Regions from separate parts of the Homo sapiens genome. Here regions 1 and 2 are each linked to region 3. The links are contacts of gene promoters, found by promoter capture Hi-C in blood cells and fetal thymus (Javierre and others, 2016). All regions are on one chromosome and are shown on one strand. The core of a region is centred on a gene start or on the middle of the fragment in contact, and the rest is flanking DNA. Distances in the headings are between cores, read along the strand shown. Region 1 overlaps PHF21A (PHD finger protein 21A). Region 2 overlaps LOC124902669 (translation initiation factor IF-2-like). Region 3 holds the start of PHF21A (PHD finger protein 21A).

The links. The method cuts DNA at HindIII sites, captures the fragments that hold promoters and counts their contacts. A CHiCAGO score of 5 or more calls a contact.
Region 1: a contact is called between a fragment that was not itself captured here and the fragment with the promoter of PHF21A in region 3, in 1 of 17 cell types (megakaryocytes). The highest score is 5.4, in megakaryocytes.
Region 2: a fragment that was not itself captured here is called in contact with the fragment with the promoter of PHF21A in region 3 in 5 of 17 cell types (M0 macrophages, M2 macrophages, M1 macrophages and 2 more); the score reaches 10.3 in M0 macrophages.

The regions. Positions count from the first base shown.
Region 1 is chr11:46,003,331-46,008,037 of GRCh38, forward strand. The region is part of intron 6 of PHF21A (PHD finger protein 21A); the gene reads right to left. Among named protein-coding and RNA genes, the nearest start is that of LARGE2, 83 kb to the left of the region's middle. The HindIII fragment of the contact is 1,841 bases long and covers 583-2,423 here.
Region 2 is chr11:46,239,179-46,243,670 of GRCh38, forward strand. LOC124902669 (translation initiation factor IF-2-like) reads left to right here. Exons shown (of 1, transcript XM_047427965.1): 1 at 1-551. Among named protein-coding and RNA genes, the nearest start is that of LINC02710, 22 kb to the left of the region's middle. RefSeq lists silencers at 17-226, 4,194-4,403, enhancers at 3,248-4,181, 4,182-4,492 and a cis regulatory region at 3,868-4,492. The HindIII fragment of the contact is 2,677 bases long and covers 1,384-4,060 here.
Region 3 is chr11:46,119,432-46,123,970 of GRCh38, forward strand. It overlaps PHF21A (PHD finger protein 21A), which reads right to left and starts at 2,023. Exons shown (of 19, transcript NM_001352027.3): 1 at 1,504-2,023. It overlaps LOC105376661 (a long non-coding RNA gene), which reads left to right and starts at 2,714. Exons shown (of 3, transcript XR_931252.4): 1 at 2,714-4,539. RefSeq lists silencers at 82-239, 423-482, 553-632, 2,046-2,105, 2,546-2,855. The HindIII fragment of the contact is 5,748 bases long and covers 1-3,380 here.

The sequences.
Region 1 (4,707 bases), core at 253-2,752, 120 kb before region 3:
CTAGTCATCACTCAGACTCTCTTCGGTGTTAATACTGTTACAAAATGAGGATAATACCTATCCTCTCCCCCACTGCTAAAAGAAAAAAATATTTTATAAAACTAAAGAGTCATAAAATATTCAATATTCATAGTACTAATGACACTAAAACAAGAAATTGATAGCTTAAAAATGCTGATGAACTTGATTTTTAAAACACCATAAAGCTGCCCTGCTGCCCATAATGATGATGACATTTTCACGAAGGGCAGAGTGAGAAAACGCTACAATTCTCACTAGGATGATGACTAGTACTTATAGAAGATTAAAAATAAGAATGATATATTATGTAGAAGAGAAGTAAAGATGGAAGTATGAGTATGGCTCAGCACACTACAGAGCACATGAATTTTAATTTGAAAAGTACTGGCAAGGCCTTGCATGCAGGCCCACACAAGTGCTTTTAAAAGCTTCATTACACTCTGCAGACATTTGCCCTTCATCAATTGCTTCCTATGCCAGGATTTCCTTTTTGAGTGTTGCAACCTAATATTCTTCACCCAGGCAACCACAGCCTATTTTGGAAAGGTTCCCTATTTCAGAAGCTTCAGTGCTGTTTCCATTTGGAAATACATCTTTATGAAAATATGTATCATCCTCAGAACAAAAATGCTTCAATATATTAAGTTTCAGCTGTAAGTGATATTTTTAGAAAAGTGGTAATTTCAGAATCTCTGCTTCAAAATTACAGAGTTGGTTTTTTTAAACGGAGTCACAAAGTAGAAAATTAAAAAGATATACCAATGAATAAAATCCTGTCTCCCCTTTTTCTTATCCCATTTCATTTAAAAATGTTTAAATTTATTTTCCATAGATTCTTAAAATCATTGAATTATGCATACTGGTAAGAAATTTCATCCAATGTTCATCTTCATAAAAACCAAATAACTCAATGCAAAAGAGCTCTTAACAGTCAATTTTCTAAGAAATGGTCTGACATCACAGATGGTGTTTTCTATATAACAAAGTGAATCAATTTGAGATGTCTTGGACACTGTAAAAAACTTGTACTTTTGACCAAAGGAAATGGATTTCACTTTTAATAGATAAGAAATAAGAGACACTGGGGAGTAGGGAAGGGGTAGAGGAGAGAAGGAAGTCCTTGTTCTAAGATTATATTAAAAGCTACTTAAAACATGTAAGTGACAATATTTCATAAACTGAAATATTTTATCAGTAGCTATGACAGAATATTCTCTATTCTTTTCTTCAACATAAAAGTTTTAAAGAACTGTGCTCATTTGACCTCTTATCAAACAAAAACTCACTTTTCTTCATATTGGTTTGCATAGCACAGACTATTACTTTTTCATAGCACTTAACTTTTACTGTGGATGAGGGCTGTATCTGCCAGGCCTAGAATGCTTTCCATTGAACTGTCTCCTCAAGACTAAAGGACTCATCATCTAAAAGATGTCTTTGTAAAATACAGTTTATGCCTCCTGAAAATACCATCTCTCCCTCTCTCCCATTCACTACACACATACTTACATGTGTTCGAAATTTATTCCCCTTCTTTATCATGGCTACCCTCAAGAAAAAACACAGGGAAACAGATAAGCACTACACAACAAAGTTTACTTTTTCCCTTTACAATAATATTTGTCTCTTACTGCAAATGTCTCTGAATATGGAAAATGAGATTATGCAGTTAAATTTTAACACATGCATGTATACACCCAACTAATACAGCAGTCCCCCACATCAGTAATTTCACTTTCTGCAGGCTCAGTTACCAAGAGCAACCGCAGTCCAAAAATTCAGGTTGAGCATCTTTAATCTGAAAAATCTGAAATCCAAAATGCTCCAAAATCCAAAACTTTTTGAGCACTGACGTGATGCCACAACTGGAAAACTTCACACCTGACCTCAAGTGATAGATCATAGTCAACATGCAGTCAAAACTTTGTTTCATGTACAAAATGATGTAAAATATTGTATAAAATTTATACAAATTTATGCTTGGGACCAGAAGTGTTTCAGATTTTGAGATTTTTCAGACTGTAGAATATTTGCACAATATATTAACGCCTTGTATATACCAAATAATCTTAGGCAGTTGCTTTTTCTGGTTGAAGGTTTCAAGATAATAAGAAAAGCAAAAACCTCATTTGCAATATTAACTTAATTAATGGGCACCAAATGTTCAGACCTTCCTGTTCTGACTTATAAAACAGGTTATTTTGACTCCATTAGCAAATGCCCCTGATTATTCTCAGCTTTTTATTACATACTAGGTAAATGAAACTATCAACGATCCTTTTACTAAGAAATGTGAACTGCCTTATACTGGAATAGTTAAATAAACATTAGGGGAACCATCAGCACCAACTACTTACTCCCTATGAGCAATGAATAAAAGAATAATATTTGTAGCACAATTAAGCTTCCATAGCTCAAGACGGATCATCCCACCAATTCTGAAACAATTTACTCTAGCTGTATGAATCTGATCATAAAGAAAAAAGAAACACTTCTAATGAAATGTGGAAATGCTTTTTTTGCATGTGAATCGTATTCATTTCTTTAAAAAACTTCAACTTCAGAACTCTCAAGAACAGTAAGAAAAATAAAACATACAATTTTAAAAGTTTATTTGGAGCCTACAAATGCCTGTGGAAAAGCACAATTTTAAACTTTGAAAATGGGCTGGTCTAATATAAAACAGTCTTTGTAGATAAAAAATAATTCAAATTCAGACAAGAGAGAATTAAAGAATTAGGATGTTCACTGTTATTTTACATTTACGATTAAAGAACCAGATTAACTGACAAGTAGATCACTGTTGACATAGTTCCTATAAATAAGAGCCAAATGATTTTAAAATTAAATGTTATAAACTTCATGCTTTAAAAAATGTGTACTCCCAATTTTCATTTGTTTTCCAATGCTTCCAGAAGCCCAAACAAGAATTATTTTAATAGGGCAAAAAACCATGAGAAATCAGTAAATTCTTAATCTTTCGGTTGTATATACAATTAGGGCAAAGGCTAAGTCAAATCCAGAATTAATAAGCACCTAACGAAATATTGCAACTTGTTATAGTTCTTTAGTTTGAATAAATCTGCCCTCAGTGTTCTATCTTCCTAAACTTTCTGAATAACCTCCACAAATCACGCTATATAAATAACAAGGAGTCTAAAAGTTTACTGCCACATTCACTCTCTAAAGATACTAAAATCAGTTCATCTACACAGGCAGCTGTCTGCCTGAGCTAGAGGATGAAGTTATGCCTTAATGAACTAACGCCATCTAGTGGGATCAGTGAGATTTCAGCTGAAACTAGTTTACAACAGGTTACTACAATCTATTCAGCTGGTCAAATGTCTTATTTAAAAAGATACACTTGTATTAAGTATTGAACTGTCTTAAACGCCTATTAGAATGTGATATACTTGCCTACAATAAAAATGGCACAAAAATATTTTAAGACCAACAACCCTCCCTTGGAATAATATTTCTATTCTTTCCTTCAAAGGCACAAAATACAAATCAACAGGTACTAACAATATGTATTTTCAAAGATCTCAGAAAATGCAAAGTCAAAGTCAGAACAACAGTCAGTAAAATTTAAAGATAACAATAACAAGAGCTATTATTTACTTATTAAGTGCCTAGCATATGCCACACACTTCACAGTTTTAATCTTTAGAGCGTTCCTGCAAGCTCGTTTTACAGGTGATTTCCCATTACAAAAACACTTAAATATAGAGTGACTAACTTAAAAAGTGATCTTTCTTCCCTCCAACCAACCATAACGTGACGAGACATCTATCAACACTAGCTCACTGCATACCTACCATGTGTTCAAAAACATGCAAAGTGATAGTGAGGTTCTAAGAGATGAGAAAAGGGCCCCCTGTCTTTTCAAGGAATCCAGGTAGCGCTGAAGCCAGGAATCTGTGGCACTTTACAGAAGATACTTCCATCTACCTTTTTTCTTCTTCTTCTTTTTTTTTTTTTCGAGATGGAGTTTCACTCTTGTCCAGGCTGGGGTGCAATGGCGTGATCTTGGCTCGCTGCAACCTCCACCTCCCAAGTTCAAGTGATTCTCCTGTCTCAGCCTCCTGAGTAGCTGGGTTTACAGGTGCCCACGACCATGTCCAGCTTATTTTTGTATTTTTAGTAGAGATGGGGTTTCACCCTGTTGCCCAGGCTGGTCTCGAACTCCTGACCTCAGGTGATTCGCCTGCTGTGGCCTCCCAAAGTGCTGGGTATTACAGGTGTGAGCCACCGTGCCCGGCCCCATCTATCTTTTATGATAGTTTTACTGTTAATTTTATTCACATTAAAAATAAACTGCTAGCATGAATATTAAATCCGTCATTTTAAAATTTAGTTACATTAATTTAAATCAAAAAACGATGTGAAAGAAGTGAGATGTGTACCCTTTACATAACCTAACAATGGACATATTCTTTCTTTAATTTCCATTAATATGACTTATTTTTATCATTTTCAAATTTTAGAACAAGGGACTTTTCCATCTTACTCCTAAGTGGAATGTCAGAGTCTTTAAAAAGGTACAGGATCTATCACAATAATCCGTGTTGTTATGTTATTTTCATTTTTAATCGCATATCTGCTTCTTCTTTTTCTGTCTGTACTTGGGATTACCATGCTCCAGATAAGAACAGAAGGGTACTAAAGTAAAATGTGTTTAATGTT
Region 2 (4,492 bases), core at 1,472-3,971, 120 kb after region 3:
TCCGGGAATCTACTCCGGGACGGGTCCGCGGTCCTCAGTCGGGATGGAGCGGGGGCGGAGGCAGCCGGAGGGAACTGGAGTCCCCATTGCAGAACTGCGGGGCCGGGCTCTGGGCTGGGCGCCTGCCCCGCGCGGCCGGCAGAGGGCGCTGCCGCACACGCCTTGGATCTCACTGTCACTGGGACCTCGGGGCAGGCTGACGTCGGCCTGCAGACGCCTGGACTCAGAACCCCGAAGCAAGAAGCTTCCCTTCCTGGTGGCTGCCATCCCTCAGGCCCACCATTTCAGCCCTGGACCTGCTTTCCCTGACCACTTTTCCCCATCTTCTGTGCTCCTGCCATCCCACCACTGGCCTTCAAGACTTCCCCAGTCCCTGCACAGCGGGTTTTGTCATCTGCTGAGAGGCGCGGACACTGATTCCCATCCCATTAAAAGGCCTAGATGTCTGCAAGTCAAATTCAGCCTTGCTTCCCCTTCTCGCCCTCTGGTGATTTAAAATAGGGATACATCATCTACTTGGAATAAATGACTAATTTTTCTCTTCTCCAAAATACGGTGGGTATGGGGAGGGTTGGTTAAGTAGGCGCACACAGATGAAAGGATCTATTTTCATAATAGCTACCGAGTACAGAGTGCTTCTTTTGCGCTGAGCCCTTTATGTGCTTTGACTCATTAATCCTCACTACAGCCCTAAGAGGTGTGGATGATGATTGCTGTTTGATGGATGAGGTCACAAGGCTGGTAAGTGGCAAAGCTGGGATTCTTCCCAGGAGTGTCTGACTTTAAAGCTATGTTCTCATCACCCAGAATGTACACGCTGAAACAACTGAACAGAAGAGGTAAGATGCAAATCATGAAAAACAAATCAAAATCTACGCTGAGAGTGCATAGAAATACCACATGTCATGGGAGGCTTGACCAGCTTGAGTCCCCAATGTGGGACTCAGATGTTGAACAGAAAAACAAAACCTAAAGGTGCAAGGAGAGAATAAGAATGAGGCTTTTGGCTTTAGCTTGGAAGAGCATCCGGAGAGGCCCACTCACTTTCTATGTCTGGGCTCTGAGAAAATAAAGGTGGTTCTAGGAAAATCTGAAAAGTATGGGAGAAAGAAAAAAAAAATCCCTTTTGTGGTTTTTCCTTTAACCAAGCCTCATTTTGCTATTTGTGTTTTATTTTAAAATTAATGTGGCTCTCCCCACCCTTTAAATTGGCACATAAATAGCAAAAACAGAAGGAAAGCCAGCTACAAACTTAAAATGTGGTGGGTTTCTCAGGAAGGAGGTACATGACTTGAAATGGAAATGAGGATTAAATGAGATGCCTTAAACATTTCAAAAACAGACTTTCCACAAGGAATTTAGATCATAAGCCCTTAGGGCAGAAGCTTTGTCTGGGTCTGGGCTTGGTATAGTGTCTAGAATCTGTGAGTGCCCAATGAATGTGTAAAACAAATCACCCTTTTAGTACATGCTTGCATCATCTGACCATCTGGGCTACCACGTTGCTTATGGTTTTATTTATTATTATTATTATTATTTATTTTTTGAGACGGAGTCTCACTCTTGTAGCCCAGGCTGGAGTGTAATGGCACAATCTTAACTCACTGCAACCTCTGCCTCCTGGGTTCAAGTGATTCTCCTGCCTCAGCCTCTCGAATAGGTGGGATTACAGGCACCTGCCACCACACCCGGCTAATTTTTGTATTTCTAGAAAAGATGGGGTTTCACCATGTTGGCCAGTCTGGTCTCGAACTCCTGACCTCAGGTGATCCGCCCACGTCAGCTTCCCAAAGTGCTGGGATTACAGGCATCAGCCACCACGCCCGGCCTGCTTATGGTTTTGAAGTGTTGCTTCTGGGGTGATATTCCTGTCCTCTAGATCTCAGTCACTCCTCAGACCCCTCCCTTTTCCAGAAATTTGCTCTGGAAATTCAATCAAGGTGAGGCAATAGGTGATGATGTCACTAGGCTTGGTGAAGTAGAATGACTGCTCAGCTCTGGAACCACCAACTGGAGGTTTTTCCAAACGAGGAAAACAAAGTCATGGGACTTGTCACTTAATAGTTCTGACTGTATTGCCCTGTGCCTTTAAACTGGAAGAATTCCCCCTCTTCACCCAATACCCTGGCCATCCCAGGTGGCCTCCTGCAAAATTATTGGACTTCTTTGCCCTTTCCTCAGTCTGCTTCTTCTTCCCTCCTTCTTTCAGTACCTTCACTCCACAGACATGTATTGAGAGCCCATTATATGTAGGTGCTGGGAGGACAGCAGAGAACCTAGCATGAGCTCATGGGCTCACCTTCTCCTGTTCCCACCTCCACCTGGCTCCTTTCTTCATGGCTCCAACTTTCAGGTTTGGCTCCACCATAGTAACTGACTTGCTTCTCCATGTGGGAACAACTACTCAGACACTTTTTTTTTTTTTTTTTTTTGAAACGGAATTTCACTCTTGTTGCCCAGGCTGGAGTGCAGTGGCACCATCTCAGCTCACCGCAACCTCAGCCTCCTGGGTTCAAGGGATTCTCCTGCCTCAGCCTCCCGAGTAGCTGGGATTACAGGCATGCACCACCACACCCGGCTAATTTTGCATTTTTAGTAGAGACAGGGTTTCTTCATTTTGGTCAGGCTGGTCTCGAACTCCCGACCTTAGATGATCCGCCCACCTCCCAAGTGCTGGGATTACAGGCATGAGCCACCATGCCTGACCAGACACATCTGACATTCTATCAGCTCCGGGCAGCTTCCTGAGACCATACCTGCTGACTTTAGAACCCCACCTTGGGGGTACCCATTTGGCAGGTTTGGATCCTGATGGACCTTCAGGAGCAGAACTTGGGAATGTTCTAGCTCCAGGACCTGCCAATGCCGTCCCATCCTTTCCTAGTTGGCTTTCCTTCCATTCATAAGAACACTGTGACAACTGAAATAATTCAGGTCATATTTATGAAACATCTATTACAATGAGAATCCCATAGTGACATAATACTCCACTGTTCACAGGAAAATGCTAGCTAAAACAAACAACAGTGACTGTCTGGCAAGGGACGCATCGAATAATGCTTATGAGTCTTTTGGGTCTTTTTTTTTTTAATCTTGGGATCGAGTGATTGATAATAATGAAGGGGAAGGAAGACATTAGGCCTGTTTTAGTTCTCAGAATTATTCACAGGGAATAGACTTTCACCATCAACACCCTAAAGATGCAGAATGCTCAAGGTAAATTGCCAGTTTTTGTCTTTCTGGAAAATCCATTAATACTGAATGATCTTGGTCTTGACCCATTCCAAAAAAAAAAAAAAAAAAGAGGATTGAGCCATGGGATTCAGATTATGTCCTTGAAAATCCCTTTAAAAACTAGATTCCAAATCAGTGCTCTCATTCTTCTTGAATATCCCACCCACCAGCTTAGCTTGTCCTATCCCTTCTAGATACAGCATTATTTTCTCTCTTTGAGGAAGAATGGCCCAGAGGCCGGAAGAGTGAGGGAACGTAAGAACGACTTTTCCACTGACCTGAGTTGCTAAAGCCATTTGGACCCAGAGAACTCATTGTATATGTGTGCTGCTCAATATATATGTGTGCATGAATTTGTGGTTGTGCATTTTCTGGCTAATATCCAAAGTCTTCATAACAAGGGGCCTGAGATACGACAAAAGGAAGACCTATGTGTCAAGGACGTGTGTCCACCCACCAAGAAGTTCTGGATGCCCAAAGGGGCTCCTAGCTCAGGGTCTGTGTGTCCAGCTGCTGGGGTAAAGAGATTTGGAAACCACTGAACATTTCTGCTGGGATCCTTCCAAACCCTTTTGGGAACCGGCAATAGCACTTGTCAGGGGAAATTAGTTCTGCACTTTCACAGAGTGAGAAATTCCTCAGGGGGCATTCTTGTACTTGGGAAGAGAAATCGAACCCAGCTGATTCCTTCAGGGCCCTTGCCATTAATAAAGCAGACGAAGTCCAGTTCAGTTAGTCCCGCCTGGGTCAGGGCGTGGAGTGAGGACAGGAGCAATGGCGTTCAGGGAATTTCACCTGTGGCTATGGCCCTCCTCTGATGGGTGCAAGCTTGATATTTTAGGGGATCGCGTTACCGGCATGTAAACACCGTGAGTGACAGCCAAAGCTCCCAGGCGACCACAGAGGATCTCAAACCCTTCCTATCTTCCTAGAAACCCTGGCAGCCCGACCGGCTGCTTGCTGTCTGATGCAACAGTTTGCAACGCTGTTCTGGGAGTTGAGTCCTGCTGCGGGGCGCCGGGAACCGGGCCGACGCGCATGCGCGGGCTGCGGCCCCGCCCCAAAGGGCGGAGGGGGAGCTTTTCACCAGATGTGCGGGGGGCGGGGCCGGTCGGCCAGGGAGACCTCTGGCAGCTCGCGCCTGCGATCTGAGCTTAATTAAACTTCTCCCGAGGCATTGGCTGACTGATTGACCCAGTGATCCAAAAAAATCAGAGAGGCCCAAATCTCCCCAAACGCACCGGCAGAGCGAAGTTGG
Region 3 (4,539 bases), core at 773-3,272:
GTGAGATCCTCTACTTCCAGACCTAAACAAAGAATATTTCAACATATGACCGGAATATGATGACACCAGATTCACCAATGAAAACAAAACCTGCCGACCATTAGCAGTCGTACCCTCATCACAACAACTCAACTACTTAGAAATCACTCTCGGCACATCTGCACCCGACAACCGGCCTGTGGCCTTCTCCGGGGGTGCAAGCCACAGACAAAGTTGAAAGAAGGCGTTCTCCTCCGGTGCCCAATCTCGATACCAACCCCTCCCCTACCAGGGCCACCTTGCTGCTACCCACCATCGCGAACGTGGTCAGGGGAAAAAAAAAAAAAAGAAATCCTAACAGCACCGCTCAGCAGAATAAAGAGACCAAAGAGAGGATGACGAGAAGTGTTGGGAACTGCGTGCACGACGGGGCTGGACCAAACGGAAAGAGTCCCACTCCGCGCGCCCCTCCCCCCGGCGGGGGCGCGGGCGGGGGAGGGGCGGCCGCGGCCCCTCTCGGAGCGGCCTGTCCGCCCCGGCCCGCTCGGGGTCCCGGGGGCGCCCCGCGGCCGCCGGCGGCGGGGGCGAATGCGGGAGGGCCGGCCCCGGGGTGAGGGGTGCAGGCAGACTCTCCGGAATAACAAGTTGCAGAAGAAGAAGAATAAGCGGAATTTCCCCAACGCTGCTCCGGCCACCCAAGACAAATGCACCAACACACTCACACTCACACACACACAAACACACACACTGGGGCCCGGCAGCGTCAGCAGCCGCAGCTTTTTTTTTTTTAAACCAGATCCCTCAGTCAACAAACAAGATGGTTTTCCAAAAAAAAATTTTTTTTAATTAAATAAATAATCATAATAAAAACTTCCCCCCGACAGCATCCCGGGGTGGGGTGGGGGGGATGGAGGAGCCCCAGCTACCTCCCCGGCCGAGGGACAGCCGAGGGGGGGCGGGCGAGGCTCCGTGCCCCCCGCCCCCGCCCGCAGCCCCCGGCCGGCCCCCCGCCGGGACAATGTGACGCCCCCTCCCCGCCGCCCCCGGCACGCCGCCTCTGTCACCGGCTCCGGCCCTGCACTCTGCGCCCAGGCTTCCGAGGCTGCTCATAAACTTACTTCCAATTTATCCTGGGGAGGGGTGGAGGGCAGAGGGGAGGGGGGGGAGCCAAGGTTTTCCCATTGTCTTTTTTTTCGGGGGGGAGGTATGGGAAGGGCACGCAGGGGGGCGCCCCGAAGGGGAAGTTATTGCTCAAATCTCAAGTTGACTGAGGGGTCCTGACGAGAACACCCCCCTTTCCCTCCTCCCTCCCACACACCCCTCCCCTCCCCCTACCTCCCCCCACAACAAACTCCAAGCAGGCAGCCCCTGATCCTCCCAGAGACAAACACCAGCGACAAGACAGAGGGAGAGAGGAGAGAGGCAGAGGGGGAAGGGGGAGGGAGGGGAAATAGAGCTACTCCAGAAAAAAAGAGAGAGAGGAGAGTGAGAAGAAGAGAGAATGGAAAAGCTGGGATACTGCACCCTCCTGCTGCTGGCTGGCTGTCCCCCCTGGCAGCTGGAGGCAGGAACTCTGAGCAGGAGAAGCAGGAGGAGGAGGAGGAGGGAACTCTTCTTCATGGGGAGGGAGGGAAGAAGCTGGAGCTGCTGCTGCTGCTTCTGCTGCTGCTCTGGGCCTCTCGCACTTTTTAGATATTAGTGTGTTAAGATGGTAGGTTGTTCCCTTCTCCCTCCTCCTCCTCCTCCTCTCCTCTCCTCTCTCTCTCACTCACTCTCTCTCTCTCTCTCTCTCTGGGCTGTTTCTTTCCTCCTCTTCCCCAGGCAAGGGGGGGTGGGGAGGAGGGGGTTGGGGGGAGGAACTGGATCCTCCTCCTCCTCCAGGAGGGACACACACAGGCCCCGGGCCGGAATCGGGAGGGGGGAATCAGAGCAGCAGGAGAGAAACTGTAGGAGACAAACAAGCCCAACTCTTCATCCTCCTCCTCCTCTCAGCAGCAGCAGCGAGCACCACCAGCCCATTCACCACCCGGCCCCGGGCCGCAGCACCTCCGCCGCCTCAGCCCGGGGATCCCTCCGCCCAGGCCCAGACACACTCGCCCGCGCGGGAGCCCGCCGCGCGGCCCCGCCGGCCCGCCGCCGCCGCCGCCGTGCGCGCCCCCGCCGCTCCCGAGAGCCGGGCGAGAGGGACTGGGGCTGGGAAAGCGGGGACGAGGGCGAGGGGAGAGGAGGCGCCGGGGGAGAGCGGGCCGCGGCGGGGAGGGAGGGGGCCGCCGGGCGGAGTGGTACGGCGGCCGGCCCGGGCCCCCGCGCCTCGGCCCGCGGCTCCCGGGACGCTCGGGTCCCCCCACCGGGGGCGGTGGGGCGTCGGCGGGGGGGGCGACGGGGGCCCGCGGCGGCGCTCGGGCGGGCGGACTACTTGACGTGTCGGTGCGGCGAATTTATTTCACTTTGCCTAAGGAACGGGGTGTGCTGCGGCACCCATTGCCTAGGGAAAAAACCCGGATGTAAAGTGAGTGAAACTAAACTAGAGTGAAGTAGGGCAGCGGCAGCCAAACTCCAGTGCAGCGGCGGCGGCGGCGGCGGTGATGGGGCCGAGCACCGAGCGGCGGCGAAGGCAGCCAAACTCCGGGGCCCGTGCAGCGCCGCAGCTCGGCTCCCGTGCAGCCGCAGCCGAGGCGAGGCCGGAGCCCGCGGCGGCCCCCCCAACTCCGCGGCCCGAGCCCAACTCCCCCCTCCCGCCGGCGGGAGCTGCAAAGGGGCTCCAGAGCGGCCCCAACTCCCTCCAGTGCAACAGCAGTTTGAAGGGGGGGGGGGAAAGCCGTGAGGGGCAGGAGCGAGGAGAAGTGATGGGGAAGCACTGCAATGGGGGAGCGTGGTCCAGGCAACAGGAGAAAGATGCAACCTCAAGTCGAATGCAACATGCAATCCCCGGCCGCCGCTCGCCCGCTCCCTCCCCTCGCCACCCCGCCCCCTTTCCAAATAACTACCCTTGAACCACTTTATTAGCAGTACTTAGTCCAGCACTCGCTCCCGGGAGGGGCGGGGGACGGGGGCCTTCGCTCACCTTTATTTATTGCTGCTTTCTCCCCCCTCTCCATGTTTTTTATTCCTAAGTTCTTTTGTTCTAAGGGGGATGATGGCATTTACTTTTCTGCTTTGTGTAGCAGGGCAATCACTGGGAATCGGCCACGTATAATCCGGCGGTTTGTCATATTTTATTAGTGAAAGTATTTTATGCCTATTCTACCTCCAAGGACTGTAACATGGAGAATTGCAGGGAGGAGAAAAACATCAGAAGAATTCTTGTTTTGAGAGATTTCTTGGCGGGGCGGGGGAGGGCCTTTTTTTTTTTTTTTGGAGGGGGTTTATTTAGATTTTCGAATCGATAGTTTTCAACTTGAAGCTTAACGTTTTTGTATGGATGTATTACCGGATTCTAAACCCCCAACCACAATAAATTTTTTAAAAGTAAAAAATCTTAGATTAAAAAAAACCCCTACTGGACAGTGATATTATCTGATCTGTGCAGCACTCTGGACTTAACATAGTGTTGGCCTTCGAATGTTAAATAACAATAAACCCCAACCTCAACTGAATACAAATGGGGGGGTGGGGGGTTTTGTTTTTAAAGCTCAGCACTTTTGTAGCAACTGCCACTACGCATTTTCCAGGCATTGATTAGCCATGCAACTCCCATAGGCATGAAATCCAGTTTTTGCAGATAAAGAGCAACAGTGGTGAGATGATTTGCCCAAAGTCAAAGTGAGTCATTCGCAGAACCAGAAATAGCCTTGGACTTTACTAGTCACATCTTTTCCATTAAATAATATTTCTATTACCTTGTTATGTATTTTCACAAGAGGTGCTTTGAGATCATTGGATATGAAGGTATTTTTTTACTTTCGTGACCTGCAAAATTAAGTTTAGTTTCTCAAGAAAAAGCAATTTTTAAAAATTCTGATTTCTTAAAAAATAAAATATGGACTTTATGGTACATGTGTAGGCCATTTAGTAGTCTGAGCTTTATGTTAAAAAAAATTCACAGCAGCGAAAGTGTAAGAGTTTGAGAGTGAAAATGAAAATTCCTATAAATGATTCAAGAAGCCTAGATGAACTCATAATGTTGTGAAACTAAACCCATAACGCAGTCAAGATGAATAACGGGAGGACAGGTTGGGTAGTAAGACCCAGCTTTACCATCTAGAGCTAACTGTAATGTATTTAAAATGAGGGAGGGGGTCTTTCAAGCTGGACCCACTGGCCAGTCACTGGAACTATAACCTAATGGTGTGATTTCAAATCATCCCAGGCTATCAACCTTTTTTCATAGGAAGACTGCTTTGGTGTTCTTTCTGGAAAAAGAAGGTAAAATTTTTTTTGGAATTTCATAGAAAAAAATCCAGAACCTCTAATTGTATCATGCTATAGAACTGGGGTTAGCAAACTTTTTCTGTAAAAGCCCAGATAGTAAATATCGTAGATTTTGCATCCCATACAGTCCCTGTCACAACTTCTCCACTCTATGCTGTTATAACCCAAAAGCATCTATACGACAACATG